Regions from separate parts of the Homo sapiens genome. Here region 1 is linked to region 2. The links are contacts of gene promoters, found by promoter capture Hi-C in human tissues and cell types (Jung and others, 2019). All regions are on one chromosome and are shown on one strand. The core of a region is centred on a gene start or on the middle of the fragment in contact, and the rest is flanking DNA. Distances in the headings are between cores, read along the strand shown.

Region 1 (7,186 bases), core at 1,809-4,308, 480 kb before region 2:
ACAAGGTCTACCCTTGAGGGAAACTATTTTACCAGAGCCTAACCATCTTGGGTTGTACCAGAACTTAAGTGACTTGGGGAAAGAGAACTCCAGCCACCTCTTGCCTTCCTGCCTCACCTAAAGAGGACAAGGGGAGGCTGAGAAGCTCTTGTGAAGGTTCAGGGGCACAGGCTCCCCAGAAGACTGAGACCTCATCACAGGACTGTAGATCCTCCACTCCCTCACCTCACCACTGCACCAGCAGGGCTCCTGTATCATTACAAGGATTATAACAAAAAGAGTAACAAGTCTTAGGCCCTATTTAAGAAGTCTCTAGAGACCCATAGACAGCAAGGGAGATAAGAACAAGGACACCAGAAGAAAATTTAGCCTTTTATACCTATAGCTACAGCAAACAGTAAACATAGCCTAGATAAACAAAACCTCACCCCTCAGTTCCTCTCACAGGGTACATCATGTCCAGCTTTCAGTGAAAAATTACAAGGCATACTAAAAAGAAAAAAAAAAAAAACGCAGTTTGAAGAAACAGGCCAAGTATCAGAATCAGATTTAGATATGAGATTTTAGAATTATCAGACCAGGAATTTTAAATAACTATGGTTAAAATTAATTAATTAATTAATTACAACGATGGTTAATATTCTAAGGACTCTGAAGGGAAAAGTGGACAACAGACAAGAACAGACAAATAACATAAGCAGTGATGGAAAATCTTTTTTTTTTTGAGACGGAGTCTTGCTCTGCCACCAGGCTGGAGTACAATGGCACGATCTCGGCTCACTTCAACCTCTGCCTCCCGTGTTCAAGTGGTTCTCCTGCCTCAGCCTCCCAAGTAGCTGAGACTACAGGCGTGCACCACCATGCCCAGCTATTTTTTGTATTTTTAGTAGAGATGGGGTTTCACCATGTTAGCCAGGATGGTCTCGATCTCCTGACCTCGTGATCCGCCCACCTCGGCCTCCCAAAGTGCTGGGATTACAGGCGTGAGCCACCACGTCCAGCCGGAAACTCTTAAGAAAGAATCAAAAGGAAATGTTGGAAATCAAAAATACTGTAACAAAGATGAAGAAAGTCTTGGATGGACTCATCAGTAGACTGGACATGGCCAGGGAAAGAATCAGTGAGCCTGAACACGTGTCAGTAGAAATTGTCCAAATGCAAAAGGCCCATCCATGGCAGACTGGATAAAGAAAATGTGGTATATGTACACCATGGAATACTATGCAGCCACAAAAAAGAACGAGATCACGTCCTTTGCAGGGACATGGATGAAGATGGAGGCCATTATCCTTAGCAAACTAATGCAGGAACAGAAAACCAAATATCACATTTATAAGTAAGAAAACCAAATATCTCACTTAAAAGTGGGAGCTAAATGATAAGAACACATGGACACAAAAACGGGAGCAACAGACCCCACTGGGGCTCACTTGAGGGTGAAGGGTGGGAGGAGGGAGAGGATCAGAAAAAATAACTAATGGGTACTAAACTTAGTAGCTGGGTGATGAAACAATCTGTACAACCCCAGTGACACAAGTTTACCTATGTAACAAACCTGCACGTGTACCCCTGAATCTAAAGTAAAAGTTAAAACAAAAAAAAGAAACAAATAATATTAATGCAATTATACTAATAGAAGGGCTTGGACTCAGATCCTCCATACACAAATTCTGTCTCTCATTGAGAAACACTGAGTCTGTGGTGGTAGGGATGGTGTGGGAATGTTGGTCTTCCTAGATCATTGGAATTACTATTTGGGGATGCATACCATCTGATTCTGTTAGTCGTTACCCATTTCCACCTATCCCATATCTTACAGAAGAATCATCTCAAGTACTAACTGCTTTATATCCCTTAAAACATTTCTAGTTGGGGCCAGGCGCAGTGGCTCACACCTGTAATCCCAACACTTTGGGAGGCCGAGGCGGTTGGATCACCTGAGGTCGGGAGTTTGAGACCAGCCTGACCAAGACGGTGAAACCCCATCTCTACTAAAAATACAAAAATTAGCCGGGCGCAGTGGCAGGTGCCCGTTATCTCAGCAATTCGGGAGGCTGAGGCAGGAGAATCGCTTGTACCTGGGCAGCAGAGGTTGCAGTGAGCCGAGATCACGCCACTGCACTCAAGCCTGGGTGACAGAGTGAGACTCTGTCAAAAAAAAAAAACAAAACTTTCTAGTCGGCCAGGCATGGTAGCTCACATCTGTAATCTCAGCACTTTGGAGGCCAAGGCCGGTGGACCACCTGAGGTCAAAAGTTTGAGACCAGCCTGGCCAACATGGTGAAACCTCATTTTGTATTTTTTTTTCTACCAAAAAATAGAAAAATTAGCCAGGTGTGGTGGTGCACACCTGCAGTCCCAGCTACTGGGGAGGCTGATGTGGGAGGAATGCTTGAGCCCAGGAGGCGGAGGCTGCAGTGAGCCAAGATCAAGCCACTGCACTCCAGCCTGGGTGACAGAGTAAGACCCTGTCTCAAAAAAAAAAAAAAAAAAAAAAAAGGACTTTCTTGGACAAACAAAACAGGAAATTTGTCACTGGCAGACCTGACTTACAAGATGTTAAAAGAAGTTCTTCTGGTCAGGTGGGATGGTTCACACCTATAATCCCAGCACTTTGGCAGGCCAAGGCAGGAGCATCGCTTGAGCCCAGGAGTTTGAGACCAGTCTGGGCAACAGAGTGAGACCCTGTCTCTATAAAAATTAAAAAAGAAAAAAACATAGCCAGGCGTGGTTGCATGTGCCTGTGGTCCCAGCTACTTGGGAGGCTGAGGTGCGGGGACTGCTTGAGTCTGGGAGGCTAAGGCTAAGCCTGCAGTGAACTGTGATCGTGCCACTGCACTCCAGCCTGCACGACAGAGTGAGACCCTGTCTGGGAAAAAACACTAACAAACAAACAAATAAAAATCTTTATTTCTCTTATTCTGAACTGTTAACAGTTAACAAACAGATACGTTTGTTTAAAACAATAGTAGCAACAATGTATTTGGTGATTACAGTTTATGGATCAGAGAAATCCATGACAGCAGTAATATCAAGGACAGGAGGGGAGAATTGGGAGGACTCCATTCTAAGGTACTTGCACACTCCATGCAGTGGTATAGTGTTATTTGAAAGTGGATTTGGATTAGTCATAAATGTACATTGCAGACTCCTGGGCAACCACTAAAAAGGTTTTCAAAAGAAGTATAATTGATATGCTAAGAGAGGAGAGAAAATGGAGTCATACAAAAAAAGCTGACGCTTTTAAATGTTTGCCTGAAAGCTTCAGGGAGTCATTGAAAGACTTTAAGAAGAAGAGTGACAAGATCAGATATGTAGTTTACTAAGAACAAACTGGGTAGTCATGAGAATAAACAGGATGTGGATGGACCTCACGGGATGCAGGGAGACCAGCTGGACGAGAACCCCAGTAATCCAGGCAAGAAGAGGTAGGGCTCAAATGAACCCACGTGCACTCAGAGGAGAGACCAACAGGAGAGAATCTTTCAAAGAAGCGGAATGTTAAGGTCTGCTAAGCAATAGGTATAAGAGGAACATTTTATCAGTCAAGGTTCAACCAGAGAAGCAGAATCAGTAGATTACAGACAGACAGACAGGTAGATACCAAAACATAACATGGGGCAACATGGAGTTCCTCTAACTCCTGAGCTCAAGCAATCTGCCTGCCTTGGCCTCCCAAAGTGCCAGGATTACAGGTGTGTGCCACTGCACCTGGCTATGACACACACATATACATATTTTATATATTTCTAAAATATATTTGTATACTATAATATATATTTTCTAAATATATAAATTATATAACTATATAAATATATAATTTTTTAAATTTATAGATATAGCAACATATATTTATAATATATAAATTTATATATACATTTATTTATATAGACATGAATTACGTTTAAATATAACATATAAAAATAATATATAAACATAAATAATTCATATAGCTATATAAAATCATATATAAATATATAACTTTATATGTTATAAATATATGTTGATCTATCTATATAGATTTTATAATTTTTTCTTCTTTTTTTAGGCAGGGTCTCAGCTGGTTGCCCAGGGTAGAGTGGAGTGGTGCAATCATAGCTCACTGTAATCTCAAACTCCTGGGCTCAAGGAATCCTCCCATCTCATCCTCCCTAAGTGCTGGGATTACAGGCATGCACCACTCCTGGCCTAAATATATATAATGCTGACGTAATATAATATTGATAAAATATAGAAATTGATTTATCACAAGGAATTAGCGAATTGGCTCACATAACTGTGGCTGTTGGCTAGGCAATCCTGAAGTCAGCAGGGCAGGCGGCCAGCAACAGACCATCCCAGGGGAGAGGGAGCAACGCGGGTAATGGCTCAGAGTCCAGAACCTCAGAGGGGGTTCAGGGGTGTTCTAGCCCTCCTTTAAAGGGCTTCCACCTGATTAGGTCAGGCCACCCAGGATAATCTCCCTTTTGATTAACTTAAAGCCAAACAATTGAGGAATTTAATTAGGTCTGCAAAATCCCCTCACAGCAGCACCTAGATTACTGTTTGTCTGAAGAGCTGGAAGATGGTGTGTGTGTGCTCCTGGGTAGCCACTATAACTGGAATATACCAGAGAGGGAATCCCGGGAGTCTTGCTTAGCTTAGCCAAGTTGACACATGACAAATATCCAGAGTGATACCTAGGGTTTCTGACTTGGGCGATAGGTGCTAACAGGGAGAGCACAGAAAAATTGGCTTTGAGGGAGAAAATATTAATAGTAAGCTTGATTTCTGCATGTTAAGTTTCAAATACCATGGGATTTTTTTTTTTTTTTGAGACAGGGTCTTGCTCTGTTGCCCAGGTGGGAGTACAGTGGTATGATCATGGCTCACTACTCCAGCCTCCACCTCCCAGGCTCAAACGATCCTCTGACCTTAGCCTCTCAAGTAGCTGGGACCACAGGCATGTGCCAACATGCCCGGCTAGTTTTTGTATTTTTTGTAGAGACAGGGTCTCCCTATGTTGCTAGGCTGGTCTCAACTCCTGAGCTCAAGGGATCTACCTGCCTCAGCCTCCCAAAGTGCTGGGATTACAGGAGTGAGCTACCAGCCCCGGTCCTGCCATGGGTTTTTTTTTTTTTTTTTTTTTTTTTTGAGAGGGAGTCTTGCTCTGTCACCCAGACTGGAGTGCAGTGGTGCGATCTCGGCTCACTGCAACGTCCACCTCCTGGGTTCAAGCAATTCTCCTGCCTCAGCCTCCTGAGTAGCTGGGATTACAGGTGCGTGCCACCACACCCAGCTAATTGTTTGTATTTTTAGTAGAGACGCGGTTTCACCGTGTTAGCCAGGATGGTCTCGATCTCCTGACCTCGTGACCCATTACCCGCGTCGGCCTCCCCAAGTGTTGGGATTACAGGCGTGAGCCACCAAGCCCGGCCGGGATTTTCTTAAATGCAATAGGCCTCTTCCTGTCTCAGGTCCTTTCCAAACACAATACTCAAAAGCTAGTCTTTCCTCTCTTCACTAAATAGTACCTATTTGTCCTTTTATTTTTTTGTACAAATAATTTTCAGATTTACTTCTATAGCTTCTACTACTAGGTCATTTTGTTTTTTTCTTGGAAATAGCACCTTAGCTAAGTTAAATAATTCACCTGTGAAGTGAGGTGGTATGTTCATTTTGCTCACGACTGTCACCCCAGTGCCTAGCACAATATTCAAGTATTTGCTGAATAAGAAGTTCATCAGCCTGTGGGTATTCAGGCTTGAAAGGAAACAGAGGTCAGAGCTAGAAGGAAAAAACTGAGTCAGCAGCATCGAGGTGATTTACGATAAAGTTTTCCAGTGAGAACACACAGAATGGGAAGAGGAGAGAGCTGAGGACAAACCCTGAAAAATCAGGACATTTAAGAAGCCAAGGCCGGGCACAGTGGCTCACACCTGTAATCCCAGCACTTTGGGAGGCCGAGGCGGGTGGATCACCTGAGGTCAGGGGTTTGAGACCAGGCTGGCCAAGATGGTGAAACCCCATCTCTAATAAAAAAAAAAAATACAAAAATTAGCTGGGCGTGGTGGCAGGCACCTATCATCCTAGCTATTCAGGAGGCTGAGGCACAAGAATTGATTGAACCCAGGAGGCGGAGGTTGCAGTGAGCCGAGATTGTGCCACTGTACTCCAGCCTGGGCAACAGAGTGAGACTCTGTCTCAAAAAAAAAGAAGCTGAGGCCGGGCACGGTGGCTCATGCCTGTAACCCCAGTGCTTTGGAAGGCTGAGGCGGGCGGATCACGAGGTCAGGAGTTTGAGACCAGCCTGGCTAACATGGTGAAACCCTGTCTCTACTAAAAATACAAAAAATTAGCCGGGCGTGGTGGCAGGCGCCTGTAATCCCAGCTACTTGGGAGGCTGAGGCAGGAGAATCACTTGAACCCGGGAGGTGAAGGTTGCAGCGAGCCGAGATGGCGCCACTGCACTCCATCTTGGCAACATAGCAAGACCCTGTCTCAAAAAAAAAAAAAAAAAAAAAAAAGAAGCCGAGAAAAGGAAGCCCCCAAAGATGGGAAGAACCACCAGAAAGAAGAGAGAAAGGAGGTGGAGACAGGCACAGGCCTGTAATCCCAGCACTTTGGGAGGCCAGGAGTTCAAGTTCAAGAAAGGAGGCAGAAGGGACAGTGTTGGGGAAGGAAGAGCAGTGGTCAATTTTTAGATTTTTCGTTAAGGCGGAAGAGACATCAGGAAGCTGATATGCTGGAGGTACGCCATTTCCTAAGAGGAAAGACCAGGAACAAGAGGAGAGGCTCAATATGGAGTATCCACAGCGCCCTGGCCTGGCCCCGATGCTTCTCTGAAGCGGCAATCTCCAGAGAAGTCAGAAGGCAGACAGAAAGAGTCCACTGCCAAAACAGACTTCCCCTCTCCCTGCCACCTGGCCTCCTGCAGGCTGCTTCAAAGACCAAAGGCATTTATCTCAGTCCCAGCTGAAGCAAGAGTGGGAGGAGGGGAAAGAGTTCACTTTCCCATGCTCTACATGAACCTAAAAGGAGTCAGCTTGGCTGGCTGAACACACGCTGCCTTGGCTTACAGAGCCCCAGGCTCATACATGCTGGAGACAGCCTGACTGAGCAAAATGCTATGCCTCCCCCTCAGCACACACATACACACAGAGCCAGACCTTCTCTGACATCTCTGTTCACCTTAACACAACATTGC
Region 2 (7,354 bases), core at 2,078-4,577:
GAAACAGCCCCAGGGTGGAAGGCTGGGCCCATGTTCACATAATTAGTAAATAGCAGAGCAGAGAGACGAACCCCTGGGTCTCCTCACCCCCAGGCCAACTCTTTTCATCGCCTTTTGTCACCTCTTATGCCTTAGTATATCGGGCTTTGACTCCCGGTCTGCCTTTCATACCAAGCCTTTGACGGGCCTTATCCACCAGGCTAAATACGCAGCTTAGCCCACCTCATCAGTGATAGGAAACAGAAGTCTTTCTTGTTTGCCTTAGAAACGCTAAGGGGCCTGAGGGTTGGATGCCCACCTGTTTTCACTGTCTTGCCCCCAGCTGCCTCCTCCCCTTGCAAGAGATGATAGAGGTTACTAAGCTATTTAGAATTACCTGTATTACCTGGAAGTGAGAATGCGTGAGAAGAGGACAAGAGGATGGGTTTTCTCCTAGGAGACTGAATCATGAAATTCCCAGCCTATTTGGGACACTAGAGCCCCAGTGTCCCTGCAGACCTGGAGAAGCTGCTGGGAGGCAGTGAAAAAAAAATACCTAATTCTTTCCATACATCCTCCCAATTATGGACGACCCAAGTCCAGGGAAGCTCTATAACTAACCACATAGGAAAGTAGTCTCAAAACCAGACATCCAAAGACCATCCGTGTGCTACGATGCGCTATTTTTTTGTTTTGTTTTGTTTTTTTGTCTTTTGTTTGTTTGTTTGTTTTGAGAGAGTCTTGCTTTGTCATCCAGGATGGAGTGCAGTGCTGTGATCTTGGCTCACTGCAACCTCCACCTCCTGGGTTCAAGTGATTCTCCTGCCTCAGCCTCCCAAGTAGCTGGGATTACAGGCATCTGCCACCACACCAGGCTAATTTTTGTATTTTTAGTAGAGATGGGGTTTCACCATGTTGGACAGGCTGGTCTCGAACTCCTGACCTCAGGTGATCCACCCGCCTCAGCCTCCCAAAGTGTTGAGATTACAGGTGTGAGCCACCACACCTGGCCACGATGCTCTAGTGTAAAGCACCCATCAGATATCAGACGTGAAGAACCCCTCAGTAACTTCCTACACCTGCACATTGGGCTTCTGGTCGGTGGGTCCAGCTGAGGATCTAGCCTCTATCACCCAAAGAGAGTCAGGGAAAGAGGATATACCATCATAGCACCTCTTTCCACATTACCTCAAAGCCATTTTCCTCTTCATTTGAAAACTGAGAGTTGGTGTCCTGGGCCTGTCTCAGATTGAGAGGTCCTGGAAAGCCGATTGGAAAATCCTCTAAGTGGGCCAAAAATTTCTGCTCGCCAATATCTACTTCTACATACCTCCAGAAATTCATCATTCTAAAAGCATGTGATTGTGCAATAGAGATGGGGAGGAGAGAGATGACAATTCCCTAGTCCCTCCTAACCACTAATCATCATCTTACCAGGCAGAACATCTTCCTCATAGATTTCAGTGTGACATTTATTGAGATTCTACATTATGCCTGGGAATAACAGACATGGTCCTTACCCTCCTAAATTTTATTATCATAGCAGACAACACATAAGCTGATCCCTTCAATATGGTGGGTGGTGTAATAGAAGGTATACACTGAGGGTCATGAGAGCAAGGGGCTAAACTGAGAGTTCAGAAAAGGCTTCCCAGAGAAAATAAGACTTGAGTGGAACATTGGAGGAGTAGGAATTGACAATATAAAGATGGGTTACTTTCACAGGAAGGGCCAGAGGTGTGCAGGACACTACTAGGAAATTGGAGATGAAGACAAGGTCAGGTCCTGAAGGTCTTGTATGCCAGGCTAGGGAGCTTGACCTTTATCCTAAGGGCAATGGGAGTCACTGAACAGTCAAGACATGACTGCTCAGATTTGCCTTAGGGGCATATTGTGTGACTGGGCTTAGGCTCTTTTTTTTTTTTTTTTTTGAGACAGAGTCTTGCTCTGTCGCCCAGTCTGGAGTGCAGTGGCGCGATCTCAGCTCACTGCAAGCTCTGCCTCCTGGGTTCACGCCATTCTTCTTCCTCAGCCTCCCCAGTAGCTGAGACTACAGGCACCCGCCACCAAGCCCGGCTAATTTTTTGTATTTTTTAGTAGAGATGGGGTTTCACCGTGTTAGCCAGGGTGGTCTCAATCTCCTGACCTTGTGATCCGCCCGCCTCGGCCTCCCAAAGTGCTGGGATTACAGGCATGAGCCACAGTGTTTGGCCTGGGCTTAGGCTCTTCGGAGCACCCAAGCAACATAGCCTAACTGGGAGAAGAGAAGGAGCCTGTTTCCTGGAAATTGAGGCCTAAGTCAGAGAGGGCCGAAGTCACAGTCTGCCAGGATGTTCCTTGGTCATCTGTCCTGTCCCTTGCAAATTCCTAACCAGCAGGCACCAAGGCCACACCTTGCCCACAGGACTTAACCTGGTACCACCAGCGGGAAACCAGCCCTGCTGAAGGAGGGAGAGCACAGCCTAAGCAAGACAAGGGTACAGACTGAAAGGCAATGCCTTTGGAGTGCCCAGCCCAAGCCCTGAGATCCAGCAGGAACCTCCTCTTAATTGTTTTGCGCGGGGAGGGAGATGATAGTTACTCGTCCAAGTTCACTCAGTGATGGTGCAGTTCGTGGCAGCGTTGGAATACTACTTTGGTTTGTATCATTCCAAACCCTGCTGTCTCCACGAAGTCACCTTCCTTGGAGAAGAAGGGGGAAATGAAGAAGAGGAAAGATATGAGGAAAGAGGAGCAGAGAGAAAGAGAAATGAGTCTTTTAAAGTGGCAGAGGAAGGAGAATGGTAAACAGCAGGAGCGAAGCGGCTGAGGAGAAAGAAGAGGAAAGAAAGGCGAGACGTGGGAGGATTGGAACAGAGACAAAAGGGAGGAGAGACGGACAGCGACAAGTGGAGAAAATCGGCGAAACTTGAGTGGCAGAGAAGTCTGAGCGCTGAGACCCGGCGGCCCCGTGCGCCTTCCCACCTGGCGCCGATCCACTTTCCTCGGGGTAGCGGCCCAACCCACTTCGCTGCCAGCCGATCCCTTTTACCCGTGGCTACCGGGACCACTCTACTCTCGCCCACTTGGCTCTGCCTAAGCGTCCTAGCCGGAGCGCGGTCTCTGCCACGTGGGGAGGGGCGCGGCCGAGTTGCTGAAGAGCGCTTCTGATTGGCCAGAGGGCGGGGTTCTTGGCGTCTCGCCGGCCAGACCCCTCCCTCAAAGGCGGGGCCTGGAGATCCACAGCTGGAAAGGGCGGAGCCCCAGCAGGGCAGCTGGAAAGGGGCGGGGCCTGACGCGCGCGGCTCGCCGCGGCGGGCTGGGGGCGCCCTGGTCTGCCATAAAGTGAATGGGCGCCGGCTGGGGGTGGCAGTACGCGGTGAGGCTCACTCCCTCCGAGAGTCCAGGAGCGCCCGAGCGGAGAGGCGGCCCGGGAGCAGGGGGGCGGCCCCCACTCCGGCCGGGTGCCCGGCCCCTGGCCCCTGCCTGCCCTCTAGATCGCCGCCGCAGCCGCCGCTACTGGGAGTCTGCCTGTTGCAGGACGCACTGTGAGTGTTTGACCATTCTAAGGACAGGGGCTCATGGGGCCGAGGAGCTATTGCTGGACCTTGGAATCCCTAAAACGAGACCTGGGGCAGCTGAACTCCGGTGCCTTGGGAACAGGTCGAGAATGGGAGGGCGGACTGCAGACCTGGGGCCAGGACTTGGGAAAAGGGAAACTCAGGGTAAGAACCAGGGGATAGGGAAGGGGGAGACTCAGAGGATCCGGAACGAAGCCGGAGACTTGAAACCAGGATAGGGGCTTCGCGAGGCAGGGAGTAGGGAGTCTGGAAACCATTACCAGAAAGCGCCCTGGAATCCCAGGGCACGGGGCAGGCGGCCAGGGAGCGAAAGGGGTTACAGAGGCCCTGGCCAGCGGGGGAGCTGGCGGGGCGGCCCCCAGTGTGGGGGCAGTTGACGGCGCCCGATGCCCCTCGGCCTAGGCTCAGACTCCTGGGGCTGGGAGCCGGGGTGCGCCTGGTCGCACACGCTTCTCTTCCCAGCTGCTCCGCAGTTGGAATAGGAGCTGTGTTGTGAGAGCCCGGCCGCGACTGAGTCAGATGGCCGCTGTGCGGATCAGAGTGACCAGGCGGCGGGTATAGTGGATCTGGCTTGGGGTGTCTGGGCCCAGAAGGGTCCTGACTTGAGGCCGCCTCAGAATCGGACAGAATGTCCGCGGTGCATGGGGCTCGGAGCGGACAGAATGTCCGGGTAGCGAAGTGGGTCTCTCCGGAGCGGGAGTTGTGTCTGGCAGTGGCGGACAGAATGTCCCTGGCTGGGTGGCATGTCCGTCTACCCAGCAGCGCCTGCCCAGCTGCTGCGTGTGCGATGGGGTCGGCTGCGGTGGGTCACCTCAAATCCCAGCTCACACTTTGCAAACTTGTTTCAGCTCCTTCGGGCTGCGAAGCTGTGAGCAGGGAGCGAGAGTAAAGGCTACAACCTGGCCTTGGGGTGAGGTGGGCTGGGACACATGCCCCCTTCAATTCAGAATAGATCAGAGCATCACTCTGTACTTCCAGAATCCAAATTTGAGGACAGAAGGCCAATGAGGAGCCTGCTAGTGGGAATCAAGACCAGGAAAGGAAGGAATAGGTGACAAAAGGCAATGGGAAAACAGGAAGGAGCTGGGTACAAGCCCCTGGCAGCCTCAGTTGCCCCCTAATTCCAATACAATTAACCAGACACCCCCCAGACTCCTTGCTGGAGTATCAGGCGACCAATGGCTCCTTCCCTACAGTGGGCAGGAGCCCAGGCCAGAAGAGAAAACTACAGCCCCATTAGCAAAGCAAATCCTGTGGTCCTGTTTCCCTTTTTCTTCCTCAGCCCTACCAGTCCCAACACCACCCTGGTGGCTGAGCGGAGGTGGGAAGGAGGCTCATGGAATCCAGACTCTGGAGTCCAACAGGGGGCTATCTGGCCCTCTCAGTCTGGTTGGGAAGGATATCTTGGCCCTACCTAACAGCCGGGTTTACTTTCCCTGCAGCTGGGATACAGCCCTGACTCTGCTGGGCCCATACAGTGACCATCCACCCTGACCCCAATTCTAACCACAGCTCAATTATGCTGAAGAGGACAGAACAGGGAGAACGAGTCCATATAAGTGAGCAAGATAGCCCAGCTGGGGACTGAGTTTTCACAAGGACAAGTGCAAGGCATTGTATTTAGCAATGAGTAATCTAAACAGTGGTTTCAACCTTTCTTACCCTTCACCTGTGAGTGACATACAATACGTATTCCCCATACTCCCATGTCCATTCCTCAGTTCTAAAGTTTGCTTATTACTGGCTAGGATTCTCAACTTTTGTTTTTCATTTGCCCTATTTTGATCAATATAAAGACACACCACAATTATCCCCATCACATTCTGATACACTTTTCAGGGGCTTGTGCTCCCATTGCTGTGCTCCCATAAAATCACTGAAATTATAGGTGAAATGAAGGACTCTGTGTCAGGAAAGGAACAGGGAAAGCATTACAGATGGTTCCCTGAAGACTTTAGCTCAAAGTTGGCTTTTGCCAAAAAGGCCAAAGAGGTGGTATCATAATGAAGGTGATTGGAAACAAAAGACAGAACCTTTTCCCACCCTTGCATAAAGCCTTGTAACTGAACGCATGCCTGGTCACTGGCTCTTAGGAAGAATGTCATGGGCCTAGAGTAGGGTCAGAGAATGATTGGCAGAATGGGGAGCCAGGGGTTGCTGGTGAGGGCAAATTTCAAAGTTTAGTCCTCTGGAAGGTGAGACAGGATGGAAATCTACAGCATAATAAAAGACCTAGATATGCAGAAGAATTGCTTGCTCCCCAAATCTTGAAACTGGAGATGAGGGGGCCTTTTAGAACTGGAGTGATGCAAGCTCAGGATGAATAGAAAAATGTTCTTTGGCACACAGTGGGCAGCATACTTCCAGAGCTCATTTCCAGAGAGATGATAGAGGCAGGAAGTAGAAATGGAATCCTTCAGGGTTTGGAAGGATCAGCACATGTCAGAGTCACAAATGGCTACAGGGTGGAGGGAGTGAGGCATGGAAAGAGCAGAACTAGATGGTTTGAATCTCTTCAAATCTCTTCAAACTGTGTAACCTTGCATCCTGCCTTCTTAGAGGTGTAATGGGGATAGGCACTCCAGCCATGCAGGGCAGTTGTGCGAGTTAAATGAAATTATGTCTGTGAAGGCCCTCTGCAAATGGAGGAGCATCATATAAATAAGAAGCACTGCTATTATTATGCCCAAGCTGCAGAATCTTTGTTTGGAAAAGTGGGGCTGAGACTTAGAGCAGCCTAATCTCATCCCTGATGCAGCCATAGGAGGGATCTTAATGACAGACGGGCCACCCTATCGTGGACTTCAGATGCTGGCCACTACCCCTGCCGCTGTCTGAGAACTCTGGGGAGCTCCCCAAATGCTCAGCCTGTCTACCAGGCCAAATATCTCTGCCTGCCTCCTGCTCAGGGATGGGAACATTGGCCCAGGACTCAGGTTCAGGACGGGAGGGCAAACGCAGCAGGCTAGAGCTGACTTGTGGTGACTGAAGGATGGGGCCAGTAGAATCTTTTCTTCTCCATTCACACTAAATGATGCCTCCTAGACTAACCTGAAGGATCCATTAGGTCCTGAGCTTTGGGGTGTCTAGGGTGTCCATGGCCACTGCCAGGGACTCATGAAAAGAATGATGGGGAGGAAAAGGAAAAGATCATCAGTGGGGTAAGAGTTGGGGGAAGACAGAGAGGAATAACTTTCAAAACTCTATCTCTCCTTTCCCATTGTCCTGCCCCGGGGCCTTTTTTACACCTTTCAGTTAATAGTTTCTCCTTTCCTATTTCTTCCCTGCCCAACCCTTTATGCTCACCATGGTCAAATAAAGGTCACAAAGATGCTGTTTTTTGTCACACCCCTGGATACAAGCCTCCAGTGACCCCTACTGCTTGGTGCATTGCTTCTCATAGTGGGGTGGGCGGGGGAGGAGGGCAGTACGGGAGTGGAGGAGGCATGACACACAGTCTAAACAGGGCCCATCTTCCTGGTGTGGTGATATCACTTGAAGATTGGGGGGTTTTATATTAAAAAAAGCTTTATTTTTATATTAAAATATTTTATAATCCATGACTAAAGTATGGAATAGAACGAAAAATTTGTTTGCATTTTTAACATAAAGCTGGTGACCTCAAAACAATTTCATACTAGTGGCAGCTGTTTCAGGTCATGCTTCTGTTTTCTAGTAGATGTTGTTTTTGACTGGTCTTAGGGTTTTTTTCTTTATTCAGGGCTGTTGCTCAGTGTGAATCTTAGCGGTTTTTGATGAAAAAGCTGGACATACTGTAGCCTAGACTTTGTCAAATCTGAACCACTGCCCCTTGT

The links. Contacts are between HindIII fragments. The study calls those that stand out against the background at their distance.
Region 1: a fragment that was not itself captured here is called in contact with the fragment with the promoter of PITX3 in region 2 in 1 of the 25 tissues and cell types used here (hippocampus).

What each region holds. Positions count from the first base shown.
Region 1 is chr10:102,718,239-102,725,424 of GRCh38, reverse strand. The region is part of intron 1 of SFXN2 (sideroflexin 2); the gene reads right to left. Among named protein-coding and RNA genes, the nearest start is that of SFXN2, 7.2 kb to the right of the region's middle. The HindIII fragment of the contact is 7,636 bases long and covers 1-6,876 here.
Region 2 is chr10:102,237,485-102,244,838 of GRCh38, reverse strand. PITX3 (paired like homeodomain 3) reads left to right here and starts at 3,327. Exons shown (of 4, transcript NM_005029.4): 1 at 3,327-3,506. It also overlaps a transcript of GBF1 not described here. RefSeq lists a silencer at 3,176-3,465. The HindIII fragment of the contact is 21,724 bases long and covers 1-7,354 here.